3 separate regions of the Homo sapiens genome follow, and regions 1 and 3 are each linked to region 2. The links are contacts of gene promoters, found by promoter capture Hi-C in human tissues and cell types (Jung and others, 2019). All regions are on one chromosome and are shown on one strand. The core of a region is centred on a gene start or on the middle of the fragment in contact, and the rest is flanking DNA. Distances in the headings are between cores, read along the strand shown.

Evidence for each region. The method cuts DNA at HindIII sites, captures the fragments that hold promoters and counts their contacts. A contact is called where the count stands out against the background at its distance.
Region 1: a fragment that was not itself captured here is called in contact with the fragment with the promoter of CDX2 in region 2 in 1 of the 25 tissues and cell types used here (H1 embryonic stem cells).
Region 3: the fragment with the promoter of RPL21 here is called in contact with the fragment with the promoter of CDX2 in region 2 in 1 of the 25 tissues and cell types used here (mesenchymal stem cells).

What each region holds. Positions count from the first base shown.
Region 1 is chr13:27,442,919-27,446,185 of GRCh38, forward strand. MTIF3 (mitochondrial translational initiation factor 3) reads right to left here. Exons shown (of 5, transcript NM_152912.5): 2 at 2,170-2,238. Among named protein-coding and RNA genes, the nearest start is that of MTIF3, 6.0 kb to the right of the region's middle. The HindIII fragment of the contact is 3,309 bases long and covers 347-3,267 here.
Region 2 is chr13:27,967,545-27,970,925 of GRCh38, forward strand. It overlaps CDX2 (caudal type homeobox 2), which reads right to left and starts at 1,771. Exons shown (of 3, transcript NM_001265.6): 1 at 922-1,771. The coding sequence starts at 1,462. RefSeq lists an enhancer at 1,006-1,697. The HindIII fragment of the contact is 6,465 bases long and covers 1-3,381 here.
Region 3 is chr13:27,249,481-27,253,186 of GRCh38, forward strand. RPL21 (ribosomal protein L21) reads left to right here and starts at 2,078. Exons shown (of 6, transcript NM_000982.4): 1 at 2,078-2,105. RefSeq lists enhancers at 1,382-2,581, 1,400-1,985, 1,793-2,332, 1,986-2,571. The HindIII fragment of the contact is 12,000 bases long and covers 1-3,706 here.

The DNA of each region.
Region 1 (3,267 bases), core at 751-3,250, 520 kb before region 2:
GACTTTGTCCATTTTGTTCACTGCTGTGTTCCCCGGCACTACAGCTCAGAGCCTGGCTCAGCATGCACATGTCGAATGAATGCACGGGCCGAAGGAAACAGCCAAGGAGCTATGGCAGGGCTGCTGGCATTTAACCTCTACACCTTCGGATGTGTCACGAATGCCTACAAACTACACCCTTCACATTTCTAGCTGGCATTTCAGATGCCCGTCAGTAATGGTGAGTATCTGTGGCCAGATGCTCCATCCACAGTGTATGACATGCATTGATTTATGGTTATTACCCAGCTGGTGGCTCCAGCTGTAGATGCTGTAAAGGCTCTAAGGTGGGAGCAAAGTGATTTTAAATCACTGACATACTGTTTAATAAAAAGTCAGATCTTTTGTGAATGGAGGAAGCCCCCAAACCAAAAAAGAAGAAAAATCTGAAAAGATCACAGAAGATTTTTTTTTCACTTATCAGAAAACTAGCAGCAGCATCCAGTCCCAAATGTCACTAGGTATTCTGCTAGGGGACTCTTAAGTTCCTGCTCACAAGCCTGCTCTATAAACTTTATGTCTAAAATCAGTGTTGTTTCTTTCCAAAGTCTGTATTAGCGACAATGATGTAGAAGTTATCACATGTAAAATCATGTTACTAAATAGATAGATATAAATTCTAATATTCTTGATATATACAGTAGACAAAACAGTTCACTGCAATTAAGCTTTAATACTAACTCAGTACTGGCTATCTTTTTCCCTTAGTAGTTATGAATAAGAGCTAAAGTGCCTTGTTTAATAAATTATCAACATATTAAAATATAAAAAATTTCAAAATTTGATTTTTTTCAAACAAGCAAACAAAATAACTAGATATAGGAAAAGATGAAAAAAATTTATAAAAATGTTGAAGACAAAAGCAATTCATTCCCCTATTTTTCCTAATTGCCAGTATTTCTCAAGTTTTTTTATAAGTGTTATTTTTATACTTGAAAATAAATTTTATTTACAAAATAAAGACTATTTCAGAAAAATGACGTAGGTTTTTTAAAAAAGCTTTAAAAACACTTTCCAAGAAGGAAACAAAGGAAAGGGAAAGAATAGAAAAACACTGGAAGTAGGGCCGGGTGCAGTGGCTCACGCCTGTAACCCCAGCACTTTGGGAGGCTGAGGTGGGCGGATCACAAGGTCAGGAGATCGAGACCATCCTGGCTAACACAGTGAAACCCTGTCTCTACTAAAAAATAAAATAAAAATTAGCTGGGCGTGGTGGCGGGCGCCTGTAGTCCCGGCTACTCGGGAGGCTGAGGCAGGAGAATGGCGTGAACCCGGGAGGCGGAGCTAGCAGTGAGCGAGATTGCGCCACTGCACTCCAGCCTGGGCGACAGAGCGAGACTCTGTCTCAAAAAAAACGAAAAAAAAAAGAAAAACACTGGAAGTATATAACTTTTAAAGTTCTTTGCCACTAGTTTAAATTTTTAAGAAACTTCAATTTTTATTGATGTATACAGCAAACAATGCAATTCATTGCAATTAAGCTTTAATACTAACTCAATACTGGCTTTAAATCAGCAAAATTGAAAATATACGTTTCTTCAAAACAGGCCCTTATAGATAAAAATATAAATACAAAGTTAAAACAACCTGTAATATTACATTTAAATTGCAGCTATCAACATAAATTCATAATTTAAAAACTTTTTATTAGGGAACTTTTTAACCTTGTACAGAAAGAACTGGATAATAAACAGCAGCTGGGTTTCATCTTTACCCCTCAACTATCTCCCCCCAACCATCCAGGAATGCTTTCAAAGTAAATCCTACTTTTTCAGGAAATAGTATGTATCTCTAAGAGGTACTCCTTAATCTTTTTAGTATTCACAATATTATCCCAATTAAAAAACGTTCCTTTATTTCATCAAATATTTAGCTTTCAGATTTCCATGATGGTATTATGATTTTGTTTGTTTACATGTCATTTACAGTTTGGCAGCATGAAGAGACTCCCACTGGTCAATTTTGGTGTAATTTAAACAGTAAGGCATAATCACTGTCATTCATTTCAATATACTGAATATACAAAAATCTATGAAAATGATAATTTGCCACAACTGCATGGGACTATTATATTGATTTTTTACTTTGAAAATTGCTAATTAAATAAAAAGAACTGAGCATTTATCCTACCTTTTTTAGGAAGAACTGTAATCATCCCCAGTTGATGAGGAGAAGCTCTTCTGTAGAGAAGAATGACAGCTAATAAACACAAAAGAAAAGTAAAAGTAATTAGAAAATCATGCCACGCACGATGTCTCACACCTGTAATCCCAGCACTTTGGGAGGCCAAGGCGAGAGGATCACTTAAGGCCAGGAGTTTGAGACCAGCCCGGGACACACAGCAAGACCCAGTCTCTACAAAAAATAAATTAGCCAGGTGTGTTGACACGCAACTGTACTCCCAGCTACTGGGGAGGCTGAGGAAGGAGGTTCACTTGAGCCCAGGAGGTTGAGGCTGCAGTGAGCTCTGATCACACCACTGCACTCCAGTCTGGACAACAGAGCAAGACCCTGTTTCAAAAAAAAAAAAAGAAAATCACCATTTTTCCAACCCCAACGAAACTACTGATTCAGGCAGGATGCAAGAGAGCTGATGCCAAAGGGTCACAAACAGATTACTTTCAGACTGAGAGGGAAAAGCACACTCTGCTGAGGGTAGACAGCTGTCTGTCATCCTAAGCCAACGTCAGACTCAGCATCTCCAACAGTGGAACAACCTGCCATCCTTGCCACATCTCTGGATGGGAAGCTACCCAAAGTGCATGGCACCTTCTATTAAGCAGCTTTGCCAAAAAGGTTTGACCTGAACCTGATGCAGGGTCTAGCTTCCAGTTTCCAGGGGATACAAGGGCCAGACTCAGAGAAACAATAGAAGATGCCACAAGGAAACAATCTGACAAATCCAGATGGAACAAGACACCTGGTTAGTGTCTAAAAAAGCCAATGCCATTGGGAATGAAAAGGGAAGAGGGAAGCTATTCTTGAGTGAAAAAAAAAATCAAGGAGACATAATTTTGCTGAAAAGAAATGTTGGGAATGAGGGGAAAATCTGAATAGGGACTAGGTATTAGATACTATTAGAGACGTATTGTTAATTTTCTTTTTTCTTTTTTTTTTGAGACAGGTTCTCACTCTGTCACCCAGACTGGAGTGCAGTGGGGCAATCTCGGCTCACTGCAACCTCCGCCTCCCAGGTTCAAGTGATTCTCCTGCTTCAGCCTCCCAAGT
Region 2 (3,381 bases), core at 521-3,020:
CTCTAGGCACACTCGAACACCAGAAGGGGCAGACCCAGAGTCAATGAGCCCCACAGTCCGGCAAACCTAGGATCTTTTTCAGTTGCACACACACACTCACAGACATCCCTGACACCCTTGAAAGGAAGCTTTGGGAGAAATGACCCCTACCTGGAGCGGCGGCTTAATTCCCACCAGGGTTTCCTCCCCGTCTCCCTGCTCTCTCCGCAGACGCCTGCCCCTAGGCTTCTTGCCCCTAGCCTTCCAGCTTTTGCTTGAAATGACCCCTTCACAGGTCAGAGGTTCAGAGACGGGGCGCGCCCCCGTCGCCTTAGCAGCTGGGGCTAGCACCTTCTTCCCAGCGACAGCAGCTCTCCCTGGTCTGCCTGCTCGCTGTACCTTGAATTGGCCCGAGTGGCCAAACCCGGTCCCACACACAGCCTAGCCATCCTCCGACCCCCCCAGGTCACTTCTCTTCTTAGATGGCTCAGATGGGGAAAGAGAGAGCGGAGATAAATGGCCTAGACCTAGCCCAAGAAGGTTCGAGCCTCCCTCTCTCCTCGGCGGCCAGGAGCCACGCAAGGAATGCATGCCGCAGCAAGTGCCGGAGGACGCGATTCTGCCGGCGTCCAGCAGTGCTCACGCCGACATTCCCCGGAGCTTCCCGAAGGTGTCCCGGGGTTGCGAATGAGGAGCTCTTGGAAAGAGGACGCCTGAACACGGTGTTGAGACTCAGAATATTCACTCCCAGGCTCAGTAGGTCAGAGAAGCCCCGACGGGCCAGAGGCCCCCGAATTTGTCTCCGGGCCGTGCCCCTCCTGGCGCCGAGCTCCCAGACAGCCCGGGACGCCCCTGTGCGCACTGGACGCGCGACGCGCAGCAGCCACTGGCTCGACCCGCGCCTTCCCAAGCACCCTCCGAAGGGGCGCAGCCTCTGCTTACCTTGGCTGCCGAGGGACTGCTGCGCCGGCTTCCGCATCCACTCGCACAGGTTCCGCCGCTGGCCGCCGGGAGACAGCTGCTCGGCGGCAGCGGTGGCGGCGGGCCCAGGAGGGCCGGGGTTGAGCGTTTGCAGCAGCCCAGAAGCGCAGGAAGGCGCGGCGGCCGGGTGGTGCGGGTGGTGATGCGGGTGGTGGTGCGGATGGTAGTCTGCGGGGCTGCTGTAGCCCATGGCTGCGGCCGGGGAGCCACCGTTGAGGCCGTGAGCCACGGCGTTGGCGGCGGCCGCGGCGCCTCCGGGCGCGTAGCCATTCCAGTCCTCCCGGAGTGGGGCGCCATACGCTGCCGGCCAGGATGGCCCCGGGGACTGCGCGCTGTCCAAGTTCGCTGCCGCTGCAGCTGCGGCCGCCACGTGGTAACCGCCGTAGTCCGGGTACTGCGGGGGGCTGACGAAGTTCTGCGGCGCCAGGTTGAGGCCGCCAGAGTGGCGCACGGAGCTAGGGTACATGCTCACGTCCTTGTCCAGGAGGTAGCTCACGTACATGGTGGCGAGGGTCCGGGAGCAGACCTCACCATGCTGCCTGGGGACCGACGCTGGAGGCTGCCGGGGGGCACGAAGGGAAAGGGGCGAGGGGACTCGAGGAGCGGCGGGTGGCTGCGCCCCAGCCCGCGGTGCTCCGCTGGCTCCTCGCGGCTCTTCTGCCTCCGAGGCGGTCCCTCCCTCTGGCCTGCCTCCTCCCTCCCTCCCTTTCTTCCTTCTTTCCTCCCACCTCCTTCCCACTAGGCTGCAGAGGCGGGGAAGACCCGCCACAGGCTGGCGTGCGGAGCCCCAGGCCGGCGGCCTTCCGTGATTAACGAGTGTTTACAAGACTCTATTAGTAATGACACAGACACCAATGGTTGGAGACGTCGAGGCGCAGCGCGCACTCTACGCACAACCCCTCGAAACATAATTTGCATTTTAAAAGATAAAGGGGAGGGAGGCTCGTGAGAGGGCAGCGACCTGACACAGCTAAATATTCAAACCTTTATTGTTAAGAGCTTCCTCCTTCCAACCTGGTGCACTTTAACCTCCAATCACAGGTTCAAAGAATGAAATCAAGAGACTTACAAAAGAGAGGGGAAGAGAAAAGGCTATCTTGGTAGGAATCTGAGCTTGGAGACAGGAGCAGTGGTTGTTTATGCATTTGCAGGGAAGAGGGCGGTCAAGAAACTCCTTCTGTCCCAAAGAGAAAAGAAAAGAGAACCATTGCTTTGATGAGAACGTTTCTGACCAACCTGGTAGGTGACAAGCAGAGAGCCCTAAGAGATGGGCCATTCCTTCCCGCCCTGTGCTCCTGGCCCGGACGACTGCAGCCCCAAACAACTGTCACCTCCAGTTATTTTCTTGCCCAAGGAAATTACTCGCCCTCCGCACAAGACAAATTATGATCCTAGATTCAGGCTGCATCTCTGACTTCATCTTACATTTGAAATTTGAGTTAAATTCAAGCGATTTATTGTTAAACGTTTACATTCAAGAATCAGAAGTTTTAAACTACAGAAGTAATGGGCATGTGGTAGAAGTTAGGCTAGTGGTTATTGGCGTGCATAACTGGAGGCGAGCTAGGGGATCGTTGGTAAAGCAGTTTCTTAGGCTGCTGGTTACACAGAATGTCAGTTTGTGAAAATTCATTGAGCTACACTTGTATGTTTATTATACTTAAATATAAGGAAAAGAGAATTTCTGCTAATGCTTACCTAGGTATTTATGTGTCTTACATCATACCTGTATCTTTAAAACTCTCTGTCCTTTACAAAGGGAAACGTTCTCCGAAGAAATTTATTTCTCATTTCCAGGAGATGATAAGGCAACTCAGGGCCATTATTAACGACTGCTAATGAAAAGCTCTGAGTTGAGAAAGGATCTCTCTTGGTTTGGGAAGCGCTGCGGCCAAGGGGCCTAGGGCTGGAAGTGGCCGTCTTGGGGACCGAAGCCGCGCAGCCCGGGATCGGGAGCTGCCCCGACAGGAGCGCGGAGGCGGCGAGATTCGGCCCCCGCGCGCGCCCAGCTCGGTTTCAGCAACCGCGTGGAGTGGGCCTGCGGCCGCCGTTCACCTCCTAATACAAGCCTTTGACAGCGCTGCCAGATTCGGGAATGAGGATCACTGCGGCGAGGCCCGGCGGGCTGGGCAGCCTGACTCGGCGGCTTTGAGCGCTCTCAGAACCCGCGGGCGCTCGCGGCACTCCTGGAGACCTGCACTTGTCTGTTCTCATTGTCAAGCGTTTCGCTCGGATATTTGTCACCATCGCCTTCATCCTGTCATTTCTAGGGTGCTCTCCAGTGTCCTTTATCTCCCTTGAGCCTCACATCCCCCTAGGATCTAGAACAAAATCTGGGAGGTGTTTTTATCCTCCCCATTTTACAGGTGACAACCAGCAACTTGCCTCTGCAGACACCTGAAAGCGATCAGAACTAGCCTA
Region 3 (3,706 bases), core at 828-3,327, 720 kb before region 2:
GTGGAGGCGGGTGGATCACCTGAGGTCAGGAGTTGGAGACCAGCCTGGCCAACATGGTGAAACCTCGTCGCTACTAAAAACAAAAAAATCAGCCAGGTGTGGTGGCGGGCGCCTGTAATCCCAGCTACTCCTCGTGAGCCTGAGGCAAGAGAATCGCTTGAACCCGGGAGGCAGAGGTTGTGGTGAGTCGATGTCGCGCCACTGCACTCCAGCCTGGGCAACAAGAACAAAATTCCCTCTCAAAGAAAGAAAGAAAGTAATGGGAAAGGAAAAGTGACCTGAGGAAGTGAGTGCTAACAGAGTGACTGTAATAATGAACTACAGAAAATTAAGTTAAAGACAATCTAGAAGCCAAGGGCTAATGGTTACAGTGAAAGTCTGGAGGAGTCAACGTATTGAAGGAATCAATACCAAATCCTATTCCTCCTCAAGTTCTTCAGCAAATGATGTTAAGTGCTGATGACGATGGTCACAGAATGTACACATTTAAAAAATGGTGCTGACGCAGTTCTTAGAAATTACAACTTTCAGGTGCATCAGGAGAGTGAGTCGAAGACATGCAAATTTCAAAAGCGACTGGACGATATTATTTATATTCAGTCTGATAAGGGATTTTGTTAACTTAGCTGACTTTTTAAAAATGCATCCTAAAAATACATACAATCATGAGAAAAACATGAGACAAATTCCATGATTAGGACATCCTACAAAATACATGACCAGTACTCCTCAAAACTCTCAAGGTCACCAAAAGTAAGGAAAGTTTGAGAAACTGCCACAGCCACAAGAGGCATATAAGGAGACATCATAACTAAATGTAATGTGGTATTCTGGATGGAATCCTGGAACAGAAAAAGGGTATTAGGTAAAACCGAAGGAAATCTGAATAAAATGTGAACCTTAGTTAATAACAGTGTAAAATATTGGTTCATTAATTGCAACAAATGTACCATATTAGCATGAGATGTTAATAATAGGGGAAACTGGATGCTGGGTATATGGCATTATCTCAATTTAAATAAACTACATTAAGAAAATAATATCTATTTTTAAAGGTGTAGTGAATAAAACAATGGCCACCCATATATTTAACACCCGGTTTAATAATGGTCAATACAGTTAAAGCCTCCCTTTATTGTCCCCTCCTTACCAGATATGACTGCTTTTCTCAACTTGATTTTCATTCTCTTGTATTTCTTGACTTCTTTAACTACATATGTATGCATAACTAAGCAATATATAGCATTGTTTTACAAGTTTTAGAGTTGAATGTATATGAATTGTCATACTATTTATTTTTCTACATCTTTCTCTTTTTGCCTCATCACATTTCTGAGTTCAGTCTTCTTTTATTGGCGTATAATACTACATCCTAACATCCCATAAGGTATTTATTCTGTTATTGATGGACGTTTCTAATTTTTTGCTTCTACCCACAGCGCTGTTACGTACATCCTTGTTCACTTACCAAAGTTTCTACAAGACATATAGGTAGGAGCAGAGTGCTGGGGTTTAGTAATTGAAAACTTTTACTAGATTTTGCCACATTGCTTTCCCAAAGAGGTTTTAACATTTGCGCACCTACTAGCAGGTGCGTATGTTTAGACGTGTGGAGGAGAAACTATTTAAAGACATACAAACTAGATAATATACTTGCTTCATTCTCGTTTGACCTTCGTACCCAAGCAATTATTTCTGCAAACAAACAAATAAACAACTACTAATAGCACTTCCCGCACCGCCAGCCGCAGTTTTCCCTGCGGAGACGCGGATACAAGGCAGCTTCCGGCGAAGGCGGTGACGCAAAGGATGGCGTAAGCACGCTCGGGACGACGGCGTCCTCTTGATCGCCCTTGAAGGCCCCTTTCCGGGCTGTCTGACACGATGCAAGTGTCAGCTTGTGTTGGCCGGTTGCCTTTCTTTCGCAAGAGGGGAAAATATCCTCACAGACTTTCTGTGTTCTCAGAGACGATCTTCTTCCCTAGAAAGAAGTCGCTTACGGTTGGCGTTTCCCTCAGGCAGCGCCGTGGGCAGCCCACAGGCCCTTGTAAGGCGCGCGCCGCGGCCCCGCCTCTTTCCTTTCGGCCGGAACCGCCATCTTCCAGGTAGGGCCTACGCGTGGCTCCCGGGCGCTAGGTGTTCGACAGACTTGAACCGCGACCTTGTGGCCTCAGAGGTCGTTCATTGGGACCGTGGGGAGACTCTCTAACCTGTTTGAGGTCCATTGGCATGGGCGGGTTAAACCATGTTCTGCCAGACGGGGAGCAGCGTGCGCCGGGTCGGGTCTGGGCCGTGGGCTGAGAACCGGACTGCGATGTTGCGGCCCTGCGGGGGGACATTTGCGAGAAAGACGAGACTGAGTCGCTTGGGGTGAGGCGACTCGAGTTAATCTTTAAAAGACTTCGTTTTATGTTCCCGTGGCTGCATCTCCGGTACTGTGGGTGGCCCCTCTCACATAGGCTGTGTGGGGGCCGCGTGGCCTGATGCCTTTCTAACTCCTTTCAGTGTGGCTTTTTTATTCCAAATCTTGCGATGATGTTGGGTGAGGACTTAAGGGGTAGTAGGAATGGGTTTAAAGTCAGGCGTCGGCTTTAATCTTCTGTGAAGCCTACAGGTGTGAAAACCCGGGCTCTCGGTCGGAGAGTGGGTCCCGGAGTCGTCCTGGGTGATGAACCCTCACTGCCCTTAGTTAATGCATAAGACGATTTCCGACTGTTTTTAAAATTTTGACCCCACATGGTGATCGGACGAAGGGAAAGTGTTTTGAGGTTGCAACACCAATATTTGCACCAAGAGGAGATACTGTTTTGCGAATTCTAGGGCAGCATGCTTTGAGTGAAGGGAAACATTTAGCCATAGTTCATCATTTTGTCTAGTTTGTGGACGTCAACAGAGTCGAGCAAACTGCAGGTTGCTCTTTATGGTGGATCCTAGTTGCCATGATTTTAATACTCTTACAAACTGTAAAGCATCGTTTTGAAAAGTGCCTTCAGTTTTAAGTGTATGGGGTCCATGCTTAAAATGGATTCCAAACTCAGAAAGATGGATCTAGTGGAGGATTATGGGCTCTGGAATCAGGAATGAGTTAACTGATTATGCCACTTGGTGATTCCACAAAGTGACTTGAATCTACACAGTATCACCCTTTGTGTACTAACTTAGCACAAGTTTTTGGAACTTTATACACATCTAAAGGCTTTGGGGATTGGAACAGAGTACCTGGCATTTAAAGGGTTCATCCATTGTAACAATGGTTTGACTTTGGTGAGTTAGGTGAAACATGTCTTCTTGCTATACAATTTTTATAAAAATGGTACTTTGGGAGCCATTCTTAAAGGATTGTTGGTAAACTTAGAAACCAAATTGTGTTAGAATATTGTCAACACGTCAAGCCTGACTGCTGTATTTTACCTTATGGTAGGAGTAATGGCCAGGAATGGCATTTCTGCCCTATAATGACTAAAGAGCTATCAAAACTATTGTTTTGGCCTTTTTGGGAAACAAAGGAAAGGTTAATTTCTAAATGCCTGTAGGTGAATTCTTAGATAATGATAAATTAGCTGCCGGTTACTACTGAGCACTTTACACGGGCCAAGCATTGCTGAGTTCTTTGTAGACATTACCTCAGCTACGAAAGTGTTCACCCCTATTTTACAAATGAAGATGAGAGATGAAATGTGGGTGTCCCAGCTAGTAAGTGGCAGAG